Regions from separate parts of the Homo sapiens genome. Here regions 1, 2, 3 and 4 are each linked to region 5. Evidence: promoter capture Hi-C in 16 types of primary human blood cells and fetal thymus (Javierre and others, 2016). All regions are on one chromosome and are shown on one strand. Each heading gives the region's core, a stretch centred on a gene start or on the middle of the fragment in contact. The rest is flanking DNA. Distances are from core to core; before and after follow the strand shown.

Region 1 (2,700 bases), core at 126-2,625, 290 kb before region 5:
TATGTACTCTACATTTTGAGTGTGCTAGATACTTTACAGAATGAAGAGCTGATTTTCATGAAGTTAAGATTATTCAGTGCCTGAGTATCCAATTTGAAGACTACCTATGTCTTTTAGACATTATATTTCCCATTAATACCTCCAGTGAATGTCAGCTGGGAAAATGAGAGGAAACTCAAGTTAGCTGATGGAAGCTTCCTATTAATAGCTCTGTAGAAAAGTATGGTAGGGAGTTTGAAATTATTATTGAAGATGAAAATGAGGAAATACCCATAGATCGATTAGCTGTACTTGAGACGTGTTTATTTAAACATGTACATTCTAACGATAGTATTTTTATTCAGAGGGACCTTTGATAAAAGAGAACCTAGATGAGACAACAAAGTAATTTTTATATCCAGTGACCATACACTCCTGATTTTTCAGAACAGTTCCCATTTTAAATATTATGTCTGTTATTAATGCCCAACATGTCCTACCATGTATCCTGATTTATGACATAAATATGTCACAATATTTATAGGAACATTTGAGACACTTTTGAAAGGTCTCCTGGTGAACTTCATCTAGGTACTTCCAATAGACATTAAGTGGATTTTAGCAATTGCTCCACAATCCTTCCTAAGAAATTTTACAACTTCATATAAACATATAGAATAAAACCTCTTGTGCTATCCATTTGGAGTTAATGGAACCACCGTTCATTCAGTGGGAAACTGAGAATCATGAGTCCTCCCTCTCAGCCTCTTCACCCAGTAAGTCGCTTTTTATAGCTTGAATGTTTGTATTCCCCTCAAAATTCATATGCTGAAACTCCAACCCCCATTGTGATGGTATGAGGAGGTGGGGCCTTTGGCAAGTAATTAGGTTTAGATGAAGTCATGAGGGTGGAGGCCCCATGATAGGATTAGTGCCCTTATAAGAAGAGGAAGGGAAACCAGAGCTCCTTCTCTCTTTAAGGATACAGTAAGAAGGTGGCCATCTACAAGCCAGGAAGAAAGCCCTCACCAAGAATTGAATCTGCTTGTGCCTTGATCTTGGACTTTCCAGCTTCCAGAATAATGAAAAATAAATGTCTGAGTTTAAGCCACCCAGGCTATGGCATTTGGTTAAGGCAGCCCGAGCTAAGACATTTCTATATCTTGTACCATCCCTTCCCAATTGGCCTCACCATTTATCCTCCACAGTAAGCCAGAATGGTCTCTGAAAGAGCAAATACGTTCATGTTAACTCCACCTTAAGATAATCTTCCATGACTCCCCATTGCTGCAGCAGGGGGAGTAAGCTCAAATGTCTGCAGGGATAGCTAGGTAACCTAAATATGGAGGGGTGAGCCTGAGGAGACAGAAGACTAGAGAATGTACGTCTTTTTAAAGACATTCAAATTCAAGAAAAAAAAACCTACATCAAACAAAGAATATTTGTGGGCAAGATTCCTCCTGTGGGGTGAGAGTTTTAATTATTTTAACTTGTTAGCATAGTAGAACAAGTATCTTCATTATCTGGCTCCTATAAACAAAGATAATCTTCCGTGACTCCCCATTGCTGCAGCAGGGGGAGTAAGCTCAAATGTCTGCAGGGATAGCTAGGTAACCTAAATATGGAGGGGTGAGCCTGAGGAGACAGAAGACTAGAGAATGTACGTCTTTTTAAAGACATTCAAATTCAAGAAAAAAAAACCTACATCAAACAAAGAATATTTGTGGGCAAGATTCCTCCTGTGGGGTGAGAGTTTTAATTATTTTAACTTGTTAGCATAGTAGAACAAGTATCTTCATTATCTGGCTCCTATAAACATACATCATCCTCTCCAATTATTCTCAGTTGTGTGCTCCTCTCTGAAATTGCCAAGCATTTTTGCCCATGCCTCTTCCTCTGTCCAGAATGTCCTACTGGTGAATTTCTACTCATTCTTGAAGGCTTATTACCTCTGAGAAGTTTTCCTTGATATACCTAAGCTGAAATTAGTACTTTTCTTCTGCATTCCAGAACACATATTCATATGCTGTTTAGATATACAACTTATCTCACTGCTGTAATTAGCTTTTATGTCTGTTTCATCTAAACACCACACACATAGCTCATGGTGAGTGTTGAATTCATCTTGATGTCCCCAGCATTTTACGTGGTACCTACGCACAGGCACTTGGAAAACATGCTGGATAGACAGATGGCCTGCTTAACTAAATGAAATGATTGATCCAAACAGTATTTTAGAAGAAGTGCAGTTTTCAACATTTCAAGTGTACAGAGTAGGTCCACTCGCCTACAAAGTGTTGCCAAGTGGAAGCCACTGTCAGAAATGTATTAATGACAGACAAGTCTTAGGTATGATTGGCATCCTCATTTATGTGAAGAAATGAAGCCAAAGGAAAGCACCCTTAGACCAACCTTCTTCCCTCCCCAACCACATGGAAAGAACTTGCATGCTAATGGTCAAAAGTTGGAGCTGGGAGTCAGAGATTCCTGGTAGAATTTCAGCATTACCATCTAGAAACAGTGAAACTTCAGGCAACTTACTTAATCTCTCTAAATCTGATCATCTTGTTTGTAAAATAAGCTTGATAATAGTACTTAATGAGAAAAAATATGTAAAGCATTTGGTATAGTATCTGGCACACAGTAAGCACTCATCACATATTGATAATTCTGGTAGGATGGTATTTTGAGATATTCACATTTTTTCTCCCTTCATTTTCC
Region 2 (2,700 bases), core at 135-2,634, 310 kb before region 5:
TATTTCAAAGTAACATCACACAAAATTTACCACAAAAACAAGGGACAGGAGTTGAGAAAATTGTTAGGTTTATGCTTTGGGGTTAAATATAGGTCTTGCATTTCAACATTTTATTTTTCATCTTTTATTACCCATTATGATCAAAACTACCTGGCATGTACAAAACTATGGACTATGGAGTTAGATCCACATGCACTACCTGGCATGTATAAAACTATGGACTATAGAGTTAGCTGTCTGGGTTCCCAAAGCCAATGTTCAAAATAAATACATATGAACTTGACCAGAAGCACCTGCTTTTATCAGAAATACAAATGGCTGGTTTAAATAGCCAGATACATTTTATGAGAGTCTGAAACTTTTTCTGAATTTTTTTGGGGGGATGGAGTCTCGCTCTGTCACCAGGCTGGAGTGCAGTGGCGCGATCTCAGCTCACTGCAACCTCCGACCCCCTGGTTTAAGTAATTCTCCTGCCTCAGCCTCCCAAGTAGCTGGGATTACAGGCACACACCACCAGACCCAGCTAATTTTTGTATTTTTAGTAGAGATGGGGTTACACCATGTTGGCCAGGATGGTCTTGATCTCCTGACCTTGTGATCAGCCTTCCTCGGCCTCTCGAAGTGCTGGGAATACAGGCGTGAGCCACCGTGCCCGGCCTTTTTCTGGATATTTTAAATCCCTTGCCTATCATTATTTTAATTGTTTGTATTATTAACAATATAAAATGTTCTTCCCAAACTAGACTCATATAGTTTTCTTTTTTTAATTTAGACAACAAATATTTACTGAACAACTATAATATGAAAACAATGACAATAAAGATGAACATGGTATTTCCCTTTGAAGATCTCATTATGAACAAGCATTCAAAAAAAAAAAGGAAAGATCATTTTGTGACCAATTATTGTGACCAATTATTTTGGAGTTAGGATGTGTGTTTAAGGGAATAACCTGTGTGACTAATTTTGAGATGAGCAGTTAGGGAAAATGCGACTATAATTCATCCCTATAACTTTACAAACTGCGTTTATTCCTGTTGCATCTTACAATGAATGCTGTGCAGTTCCTTCTATCTGACAAGCATGGATGGATACTAGTCAAACATGCATTCACTCCAAATACAGCTTGCTAGTTACAGAAATAATTTTAAATAATAATTTAGAAAACATACAAGTGAGTACTACACTTCACAAAAAATCTTTCTCAATAGATATCTGAATAAATAGTAAAAAAAAAAAAAAACCTGCCCCAAAGTAATTTATGTTTTCAAAACAAAATAATAATGTTTTAAAGTGCTAAAACAAAGAGACAAATTAAAGAAGAGACTTCATGGAACGCTCAAGCTGTCTATTAGAATCTCTGCAGGAAGAGTCATTCTACTGAAATGGTAACCTAAGCTATCCCACAAAATTCTCATTTTCACTACCATGTTTTAATTTTCTCCATAAAATTTACCACAGTTGTCATAATACATATGGCAGCTGATATGGTTTGACTGTGCCCCCACCCAAATCTCATCTTGTATTGTAACTCCCACAATTCCAATGTGTTGCAGGAGGAACCCGGTGGGAAGTAATTGAATCATGGGGGCAGGTCTTTCCCATGCTGTTCTCGTGATAGTGAATAAGTCTCACAAGATCTGATGGCTTTAAAAATGGGACTTTGCCTGCACAAGTTTTCTCTTTGCCTGCTGCCATCCACTTAAGATGTGACTTGCTCCTCCTTGCCTTCCACCATGATTGTGAGGCATCCCCAGCCATCTGGAACTCTAAGTCCAATAAGCCTCTTTCTTTTGTAAATTGCCCAGTCTCGGGTATATCTTTATCAGCAGCATGAAAATGGACTAATAAGGTAAGTTGGTACCAGTAGACTGGGGTGCTGCTGAAAAGATACCTGAAAATGTGGAAGCAACTTTGGAACTGGGTAATAGGCAGAGGTTGGAAAAGTTTGGAGGGCTCAGAAGAAGACAGGAAAATGTGGGAAAGTTTTGAACTCCCTAGAGACTTGTTGAATGGCTTTGACCAAAATGCTGATAATGACATGGACAATAAAATCCAGACTGAGGTGGTCTCAGATGGAGGTGAAGAATTTGTTGGGTACTGGAGCAAAGGTGACTTTTGTTATGTTTTGGCAAAGAGACTGGCAGCATTTTGCCCCTGCCCTAGAGATTTGTGGAACTTTGAACTCAAGAGAGATGATTTAGGGTATGTGGCAGAAGAAATTTCAAAGCAGCAAAGCATTCAAGAGGTGACTTGAGTGCTGTTAAAGGCATTTAGTTTTATAAGGGAAGCAGAGCATAAACGTTGAGAAAATTTGCAGCCTGACAATATGAAAGAAAAGAAAATCCTATTTTCTGAGGAGAAATTCAAGCCAGCTGCAGAAATTTGCATAAGTAACAAGGAGCTGAATGTTATTCCCCAAGACAATGGGGAAAATGTCTCCGGGGCATGTCAGACGTCTTCGTGGCAGCCCCTCCCATCACAGGCCTGGAGATCTAGGAGGAAAAAGTGGTTTCATAGGCTGGGCCCAGGGTCCCCATGCTGTGTGCAGCCTAGGGACTTTGTGCCCTGTGTCCCAGCTGCTCCAGCCGTGGCAGAAAGGGAGCAATGTAGAGCTCAGGTCATGGCTTCAGAGGGTGCAAGCCCCAAGCCTTGGCAGCTTCCATGTGGTGTTGACCCTACGAGTGCAGAGAAGCCAAG
Region 3 (2,700 bases), core at 186-2,685, 320 kb before region 5:
GAATCACATTAATGAAATAATTTAGCTACAGCAGTGATTCTCTGAAGTCTCAACAGAGAATCCATTACTAATCAACTTCCAGACCTGAGTCATCAAATCTATTACTAGCTACCAACAATGTAACAACTTCACTTGGATATCAAATCCAACGTGTCTCAAATGGAACTCGTTATCTTACTCCACAGATTGGTTTCACTTCTTAATTTCCCTGTGTGAGCTAGTGCTAAAGTCATAATCCCCGTCAGGCGAGTTTACAACCTAGCGGCTATCTTTAACCTCTCTCTTTTCCCATTCTCACAGTACAGAGAAGAGGGAAGGAATTAGGACCTGCTGTCTGTTCTACCCACTAACATGGGCTAGACACTGACATCAGAGAGTTGTCAAGGTGTAGACCAAGGTCCTTGTGGGTCAGAATGCCTTGTGGCTCTTGTTAAAAATGCAGACTTCCCACCACACTTCAAACCTACTCAATCAGCATTGGGTTGGGGAACTGACATTTTAAATTAGATTCCCAGGAAGCTTTTAAGGCCAACTAAAGGGAAGCAGTACTCTACAGGAAATGACCCAGTTATAGAGAGACACATGTGGAGGAGCAGCAAGGTCAGTAAGGCACCCTGTCCAAAGGGCACAACAAAGATTCGAGGGGAAGCCCTCATGTCCCAAGCAGGTGGATGAAACATAGAAGCAGAAAATTGGTAGGTAAGGGGTCAGCCCTTCTTCTTTTTTTTTTTTTCTGTCGCCCAGGCTGGAGTGCAGTGGCATGATCTCGGCTCACTGCAACCTTCGCCTCCCAGGTTCAAGTGATTCTTCTGCCTCAACCTCCCAAGTAGCTGGGACTACAGGCACGTGTCACCACACCCGGCTAATTTTTTATTTTTTGTAGAGACAAGGGTTCATCATGTTGGCCAGGCCGGTCTCAAACTCCTGACCTTAGGTGATCCCACCCGCCTCAGCCTCCCTAAGTGCTGGGATTACAGGTGTGAGCCACCACGACTAGCTGGGGTCAGTACTTCTAAGCTCACATTTACATCTGTTTGTGAATAGCCTTCACCAGGGTAGGGCAGGAGAGACTCTAGTTCCCCAAAAGTTGGACCAATCAGAACAAGTCATGCCAGAGCCTAGTTCTGAGCATTAAAGCACACAGGGGAGGAATAGTAGCAACTCAGGTAACGATGCGGCATTCCAGGGTTATCACTGGCTGGTTGGATCCCAGCTCTCTTAGACAAGAAAGAGACTTAGGGAACAATACAGGAAGCAGGGCGCTAGAAGGAATCATTGAGGGTTTCATCTGTATCAGCCAGGATTTGGTTGCCAATAAAAGAAACCACTTTAGCTACTTTAAACTTATAGAGATTTAATATAATGAACTAGGAGCTTTCAAAATTACTGGAAAGGCTGGGGAAACAGGCTCCAGGCTGAGCTTCCAAGAATAATTGCCAGAAGTGCCTACCAAGGTAGCTATTTCTTGTGCCATCCTCAGAAAACCGAGGACTGATCAGAAAGCACTTCAGCCTGGCGACAAGAGCAAGACTCCATTTCAAAAAAAAAAAAAAAAAAAAAAGAATGCCTAACCTCCTGGGAATGCAGCCCTGTAGGTCTCAGCCTTATTTTACCCAGCCTCTCTTCAAGATGGAGTCACTCTGGTTCAAACAACTCTGACAATGTCACCCTTGTACCACTTCTCTTGTCCAAATATCATACTCATACGTTTGTTTGGCAGAGGCTGGGTCACATATGGAATCTGACAGAGTCTGAGAAATGAAGGCTGCAACTCTCTGTCCTGTAGCACGCTACAAAGGAAAGAGGGGTAGAGTTGTATAGGCCATATATGATATCTCTCTAGGCATCTAGTCAGCTATAAGTTTCTCCACTAGAATGAAAGTTATCAGAAGCCAGGGACCTATTGTTTACCATTTTAGGGGCCCCAGTAGTTCACAGAATGTCTGATGAATAGTTGGAGTGTTGTGGGGGTGAAGAAGGAAAGAAGGAAGCAAGGAAGGAAAGAAGTTCAAGATTAGGTCAGGGCAGAGTCTACAGGCAGAAAACAGGAAACTCAGTTTTGATGGTATTTAAAACCTAAAATGAAATGAAGCAGGGATGGACACTAATAATTCTTCTTTCCTAGTAGTGTTTGCTTTTAGTCTGTTTCTCTTCATTTCCATGCTGATGAACTTAATACAGTTGAAATTCCTTAAGTCTGGAAAAAATCAATTGTCTCCTAACTGGTACCTTGCCCAATTTATCCCCATTCTTCCCCATTCTAGTCCATTCTACACACCAATCTCTGGACTGGGTTTCCTAAAACATGATCTTCCAACTTTTTACTTGCAAACACTTCTAAAAGAATTTTGTAAAGCTTGTGTCCTCTTGCACATTTTTAAGCTGACATCTAAAATTCTTCATCCCATGTTAAAATAGTTGCAAAGGATGTAACTTCCAATGTTCTGTAAATATTGTCATTTTAAAATAAAAATATTATAGCACTTTAAAAATATATCTAATATAATCTAAATACCACATCATCCCTTTTTAAAAAATACATGAACAAGCTGTTCTTTAATAATCAGAAATTTTGTATTTTTCCTTTTCCTCCTTGAACTCATATTTCTATTCTGCTTCCACCAAAAAATTGTATCCTAGTATGATATTTTTATTCCTAAAAGTCTTTTTATCAATTATCTTAATTATCACAATAAAAGT
Region 4 (2,700 bases), core at 88-2,587, 350 kb before region 5:
CCATACTGCAAGTGAAAGCTGTCCCTTCTCCCAGCTACTGAAGGCTACCCCTTACGCTGAGCACAACTTTACAGCAGTATTTCTCTCTCCTCATACAAAAAGTCCGATAACCAAAAATACATTGAAAGAGAAGAAACTAAAAATCGCCTTTTTATCTTAAACTCACAAAAACGCTATTTCTGTCTTAAACTCACAAAACTATCTAAGGTTTCTATCTTAAACTCACAAAAACAAAAGCCTCAAAAATTATGTGGAGGCTGAAAACTAGGAATCCTGACCTGGAAACTGAGGTCTAACGTTGCCAATATTTGGATGGAGGTGAGCTTGCACAAGATCTAAAAATTGTTACATTTAGCAGGTGCAGGCCTGAACCAACAATGACAGTTTTTTCTATGGAGAAATATAATCTGACTGTCAAATAACCAGTTTGCAAATTTTGGAATACAACTCATTTGTGAACACTCTAATTCGATAAATTGTAATGTTAAAATTACAGGATAGATTATCATTTATATTTCAAACCAGTGTCCATTTTGCTGTATGATATTTGGTAATCTAATCATTAAATGTTTGTTGAGCATTTACTATGTGTCAAGCACTATGCTAGGCACTAGGTACAGGGAAGTAAACAAAATGGACATGATCTCTAATGTTATAGGATTTATTATCTAATCTAGATAAAAATAAGCACCAAATTAATACATAATTAGAAATTATGACAACTGATAATGAAGGGAAAGGGTCAACAAGAGAGACTCCTAAAATCATAGCAGGCTTTTCTGAGGAGACATTTAGCTGAGAAATTAAGAGTAAGTGAGAATTAACCTCAGGAAGGGTAAGGGAAAAGACGTTCCTGACAAAGGAACGTTTCCCAAAGCCTTGGACTGGGAAAGCATGTCGTTCCTTCAAGAGTTGAAAGGCCCGGCACGGTGGCTCATGCCTGTAATCCCAGCACTTTAGGAGGCCAAGGCGGGCGGATCACCTGAGGTCGGGAGTCCAAGACCAGCCTGACCAACATGGAGAAACCCTGTCTCTACCAAAAATACAAAAATTAGCTGGGCGTGGTAGCGCATGCCTGTGATCCCAGCTACTCGGGAGGCTGAGGCACGAGAATCTCTTGAACCCAGGAGGTGGAGGTGCACTGAGCGGAGATCGCGCCATTGCACTCCAGCCTGGGCAACAAGAGCGAAACTTCATCTCAAAAAAAAAAAAAAAAAAAAAAAAGAGTTGAAAGAAAGCCAATCTGAGCAAAGGGGAGAAGCCCAAGATGATGTTGGGGGAAAAGGCAGGAGCAGACTCTACAGAGCTTTGGAGAACGTGTTAAGGAAACTGTAGGTTCTAATAAATGCGATGGGGATCCCAAAAAGAGGGAGTGATGCCATTTACACTCTTAAAACCATCTTTCAAAAGGCCGGACGTGGAGAATGGATTAAATGGAAGCAAGAGTCATGTCTCTTTCTCTGTAAGCTCCCCATTCGGAAAAATGACAACTTCCAATTTACAACCATGTTAATGTAGCATACTTAAAGTTATTTCTTTTAAATAATTATAAAAACTTAACTTCCCGGCCAGGCGCAGTGGCTCACGCCTGTAATACCAACACTTTGGGAGGCCGAGGCTGGCGGATCATGAGGTCAGGAGATCGAGACCATCCTGGCGAATATGCGAAACCCCATCTCTACTAAAAATACAAAAAATTAGCTGGGCGTGGTGATGGGTGCCTGTAGTCCCAGCTACTTGGGAGGCTGAGGCAGGAGAATGGCATGAACCCGGGAGGCAGAGCTTGCAGTGAGCTGAGATAACACCACTGCACTCCAGCCTGGGTGACACAGTGAGACTCCATCTCAGAAAAAAAAAAAAAAGTTTAACATCCCACACATTTTTTGCTTACTAGGCAACTCTCTCCCAAGAAAATATACTACCACTAAATGAGTGAAAACTGCAATCTTTTCTATTTGGGCAATATAAATTCCAATATTCATTGAGAATGAAGATAAATTACCATTCAAGACAGAGGAAGGGGTAAAAATAAATGTCTTTTTATGTGACATTGCATTCAGAATATTATCTCTATTTTATAATCAGAGGAAACTCTGCATTTCATTGAAGTTGCTGGGACAGAAACAGCCAGAAATAGATATTCTGCATTCTTGACTTTATTCTGTTTTTGTTGCCTAGTACCATTTCTTCCTGTGGAGCATATAAGAGCAGCAGCCAGTCCTTCTCATCGTTCTCATCAAATTTGAAGGTAGGCTCCTGGCAAAAGTGAGTATGTGTGTAACTGGGTAATACAATACTTTTTTTTCCTTTTTGTGGAGAACGGGATAACCCTATATTGCCCAGGCAGGTCTCGAACTCCTGGGCTTAAGCTCTCCTCCCACTTCTGCCTCCCTAAAAGCTGGAATTACAGGCATGAGCCACCGCCTGGCCTCCAATACTTTGAAAATAATACGGTCTTCTCTTACTGCTCTGAGAACAAGTTCCTTGACATGTTATTTCATGCTATTCGTTTCAGGGGAGAGGGCTGAAAATAAGCATATCTTAAGAAATACAAAGACAAAAGAAATACTCAGCTTCTTGCATTCAAAATAGGATCATGTAACAATCTAGGTTATCTTCCAAATACCTTATTTCCTCCCCTCTCCCTGACCAAACCCACAAGGCTCATTCTCACTGCCTTTTTGTTTGTTGGCTTGTTTT
Region 5 (2,700 bases), core at 32-2,531:
TCATCCCGTAAATTGCACAATCCCCACCTCCAATCTATCAGGCCGTTTTTGTGAACCTCTGAAAAACGGTTTATGATTATACACTTGCTTAAACCTAACTGTTCCATCTGCTATCGGATAAGACAAGCTTCATTTTTTTCTTACATTTGGCTGTACTTACCACAGGTGCTTTAGGGCTGGAGGTGAAAGGATGCAAGTAACAATCTTATTGTGCCTACAAGATTTATAATGTGGGATGCAACAAAATTCTGTTATGTTCTTGCACGGAAATACCCTCAATGGGGAAGCACTGCTGATACTTAAATGACGATTGAAGGATTGTACGCCTGTATGCTGAGCTACAACGATGACATACGATCCCAGTTTTACATTTACGTCTTCATCAATTTGAGCAGTCGTTATGTTTCCTACTATTCTCTCCACAAGAAAGGGGGAGGTGCGTACTCCAAAAATGTGCTCAACTAAAATGTTTCCCATTTAAGGTGGTTATTTCTGGCACTAGGAAGACAGTTAAATATTTGTTAATGATTCCTTACTCATTTTTAAAACCTTCGGAGTTACCCCTGTATGGACATATATAGAGCCCCACCCACATAGCCCACGGCTGGGTATCAGCCCCCATTTCCCTTCTCTCGCCACTGCCAGTAGTCTACCAAGTGAACCTGCCTCATCCCAAAGATAATTTTGCTTCATGAGCCCACATATTTATTCTTCTTCATAATGAGTCGCTTTTGAAAAGCCCGTGCAGCAACAGCCTTGGCCAAAGGAACAGCGTTCTGCTTACAACTTAGCTCATCTGGGGGCCTATTTGCCCCTGGAACTTCAGGACGCTCCTAAACTATACTTGCCCTTCTGCAAACACCGACAGTCGGCTCGCGGCGCCCCACCGGGACGCTCCCCTTTCATGGGCTGTAAGCCCAGCACATGCTGGAGTTTAACACGGTTCCTGCTGGATGCGCACAGAAGCCCTGGAGCCAAGCAGGCGTGTGCGCGTTTGGGGCTGGCTGTGTGATGGGTTGAGGGTCGGCCGCACAGCCCACGGAAGCATCAGGAGACCAGCGCCGGCGTACGGTGCGGGCTAGGGCAGAGCCCCAGACTCACCTGGCAGCGCTGCCGGCCGGAAAGCGGAGAGGGACGCGAAGATCAGCAAATTCGCCAGTTTGGATCCTTGTCCTTTTCCGCCCTTTTCCCCCCATTAAATCCAGAACCCGTCACATGATAATTAAGAAAAAACTTCAGTTCCGCCTCCTCAAACGACTGCGGTAGAGGATCTCTCAGTTCTACCTCAGTGCCGCGCCCACATCCGGGGCTGGTTCTCACCGCCCCTGAGCCTACCCTATAGGTAGAGAGGACGCCAATCTGGATTCAGAGGTCCCTTTTCCGCGGTAATTGGACCATTTGTCCGCCAGTGCAAACCAACCGACCTTTCCTTACTTTCGGGTTCGACAGAAAGGCGGCAATAAAAAGACCCATTGGTCCCGCCTCTCTACTGTCACGGGTTAGTAGGGAAGTCAGTCCAAGATCAGCCTGGAGTTTCCGTGCTCCCATTGGGCCCACAGATGTTAATCAGAGCAGCCGGCGCTCAGCTCCGCCCTCTCGGGACGCCCCGCCCCTCCTCCCATCCTCCCTGCCCGCGCGCAGTGACTGCAGGCTCCGGCGCAAAATCCTGCGGGAGAGGGGGTGGGGCAACCCTCTGGAGGCAGCGCGCCCGCGGGCAGCCTCGTTGTGGCTCCTTGGGCTCTGTTGGCGGCGGCGCTAGCTTCGGAGTCTCCCGCGCGCACCTCAGCCGCCTCCTAGCGGCGCGGCGCTCGCTCCTACGGTAAGAGCGGCATCACCTCCGCGCTCGGGTGGGCAGTGTGGAGGTCGTCGAGTTCTGACAGAATTTCGAGGATGGATCGGGACGAGGGAGGAGAGCGGTCGTCGGGATGGAGGTGGGGGCTCCGGGGCCAACGCGTCGCCCTCCGTCGCCGGCGACTTTCCCGGCAGTCTCCCGTACCTGAGGGCCGGGGTCAGCCGCGACCCCTTCTCATCAGTCGGCCGGTGGCGGAGGCTCAGCCGCCTTCCTCCCGAGCTCGCGCGGTCCTCAAGTCTTGATGGTGACGGGCCGAAGCCCAGCGCGCCACCCGCCCCTCGGGCCCCGCTTCCAGGCCCCTGTCCTTTGCTTCCTTCCCTTGGCGCTGTGCTGAGGGGTCGTCGGGTCCTGGAAGGGCGTTCAGGGGTCTCGGGTGGCTAGCCCGGCTGGCGGGGAGATGTCAGCTAGCGGCCGGAGGAGCGGGCTCGGGAGGGGGCGGCGGCTCGCGCGCTGGAGGAGGTGGAAGGAGGGTCGCTGCCCTGCCCCCTCTGAGCAGGCGGCAGTCGAGTTTTCTGATCCCAACACGGCGGAGTGGGTGCTTAAGGCATGGGCCTTAAGGGATAGTTCCCGTCTGGAAACAATACCGTGCTCCATCAGCATGCTTCAGCTTTTCTTATTTTTATCTGCCCAGTGTTGACAGCCAGCATTCTGGTATTGTCCTTCGAGTCATGGCTTTCTAACTCAGCACCTCCTTGTGTAACTTCAGGGATCATTCTGTCACTAATCTGTCACCCTTCTTATTTTTAGCGTGGCGAAAACAAGGAACTGCCTTATACTAACCTGGGCAGTGCAGAATCTGGAACAATTTATTAATCTCAGTGTGTACTTTACATGCCAAGTAATTTTGA

Evidence for each region. Contacts are between HindIII fragments. The CHiCAGO score rates a contact against its expected background, and 5 or more counts as called.
Region 1: a contact is called between a fragment that was not itself captured here and the fragment with the promoter of TMEM60 in region 5, in 5 of 17 cell types (neutrophils, erythroblasts, total CD4 T cells and 2 more). The highest score is 7.1, in neutrophils.
Region 2: a contact is called between a fragment that was not itself captured here and the fragment with the promoter of TMEM60 in region 5, in 2 of 17 cell types (monocytes and neutrophils). The highest score is 7.4, in monocytes.
Region 3: a contact is called between a fragment that was not itself captured here and the fragment with the promoter of TMEM60 in region 5, in 1 of 17 cell types (neutrophils). The highest score is 5.1, in neutrophils.
Region 4: a fragment that was not itself captured here is called in contact with the fragment with the promoter of TMEM60 in region 5 in 1 of 17 cell types (neutrophils); the score reaches 5.7 in neutrophils.

The regions. Positions count from the first base shown.
Region 1 is chr7:77,511,930-77,514,629 of GRCh38, forward strand. No RefSeq gene overlaps it. Among named protein-coding and RNA genes, the nearest start is that of PTPN12, 24 kb to the right of the region's middle. The HindIII fragment of the contact is 2,366 bases long and covers 193-2,558 here.
Region 2 is chr7:77,491,490-77,494,189 of GRCh38, forward strand. No RefSeq gene overlaps it. Among named protein-coding and RNA genes, the nearest start is that of PTPN12, 44 kb to the right of the region's middle. The HindIII fragment of the contact is 6,208 bases long and covers 1-2,700 here.
Region 3 is chr7:77,473,268-77,475,967 of GRCh38, forward strand. No RefSeq gene overlaps it. Among named protein-coding and RNA genes, the nearest start is that of GSAP, 58 kb to the left of the region's middle. The HindIII fragment of the contact is 1,837 bases long and covers 518-2,354 here.
Region 4 is chr7:77,444,517-77,447,216 of GRCh38, forward strand. No RefSeq gene overlaps it. Among named protein-coding and RNA genes, the nearest start is that of GSAP, 30 kb to the left of the region's middle. The HindIII fragment of the contact is 4,122 bases long and covers 1-2,700 here.
Region 5 is chr7:77,797,153-77,799,852 of GRCh38, forward strand. TMEM60 (transmembrane protein 60) reads right to left here and starts at 1,282. Exons shown (of 2, transcript NM_032936.4): 1 at 1,102-1,282. PHTF2 (putative homeodomain transcription factor 2) reads left to right here and starts at 1,621. Exons shown (of 19, transcript NM_001395272.1): 1 at 1,621-1,819. RefSeq lists an enhancer at 1,042-1,151 and a silencer at 1,562-1,701. The HindIII fragment of the contact is 8,213 bases long and covers 126-2,700 here.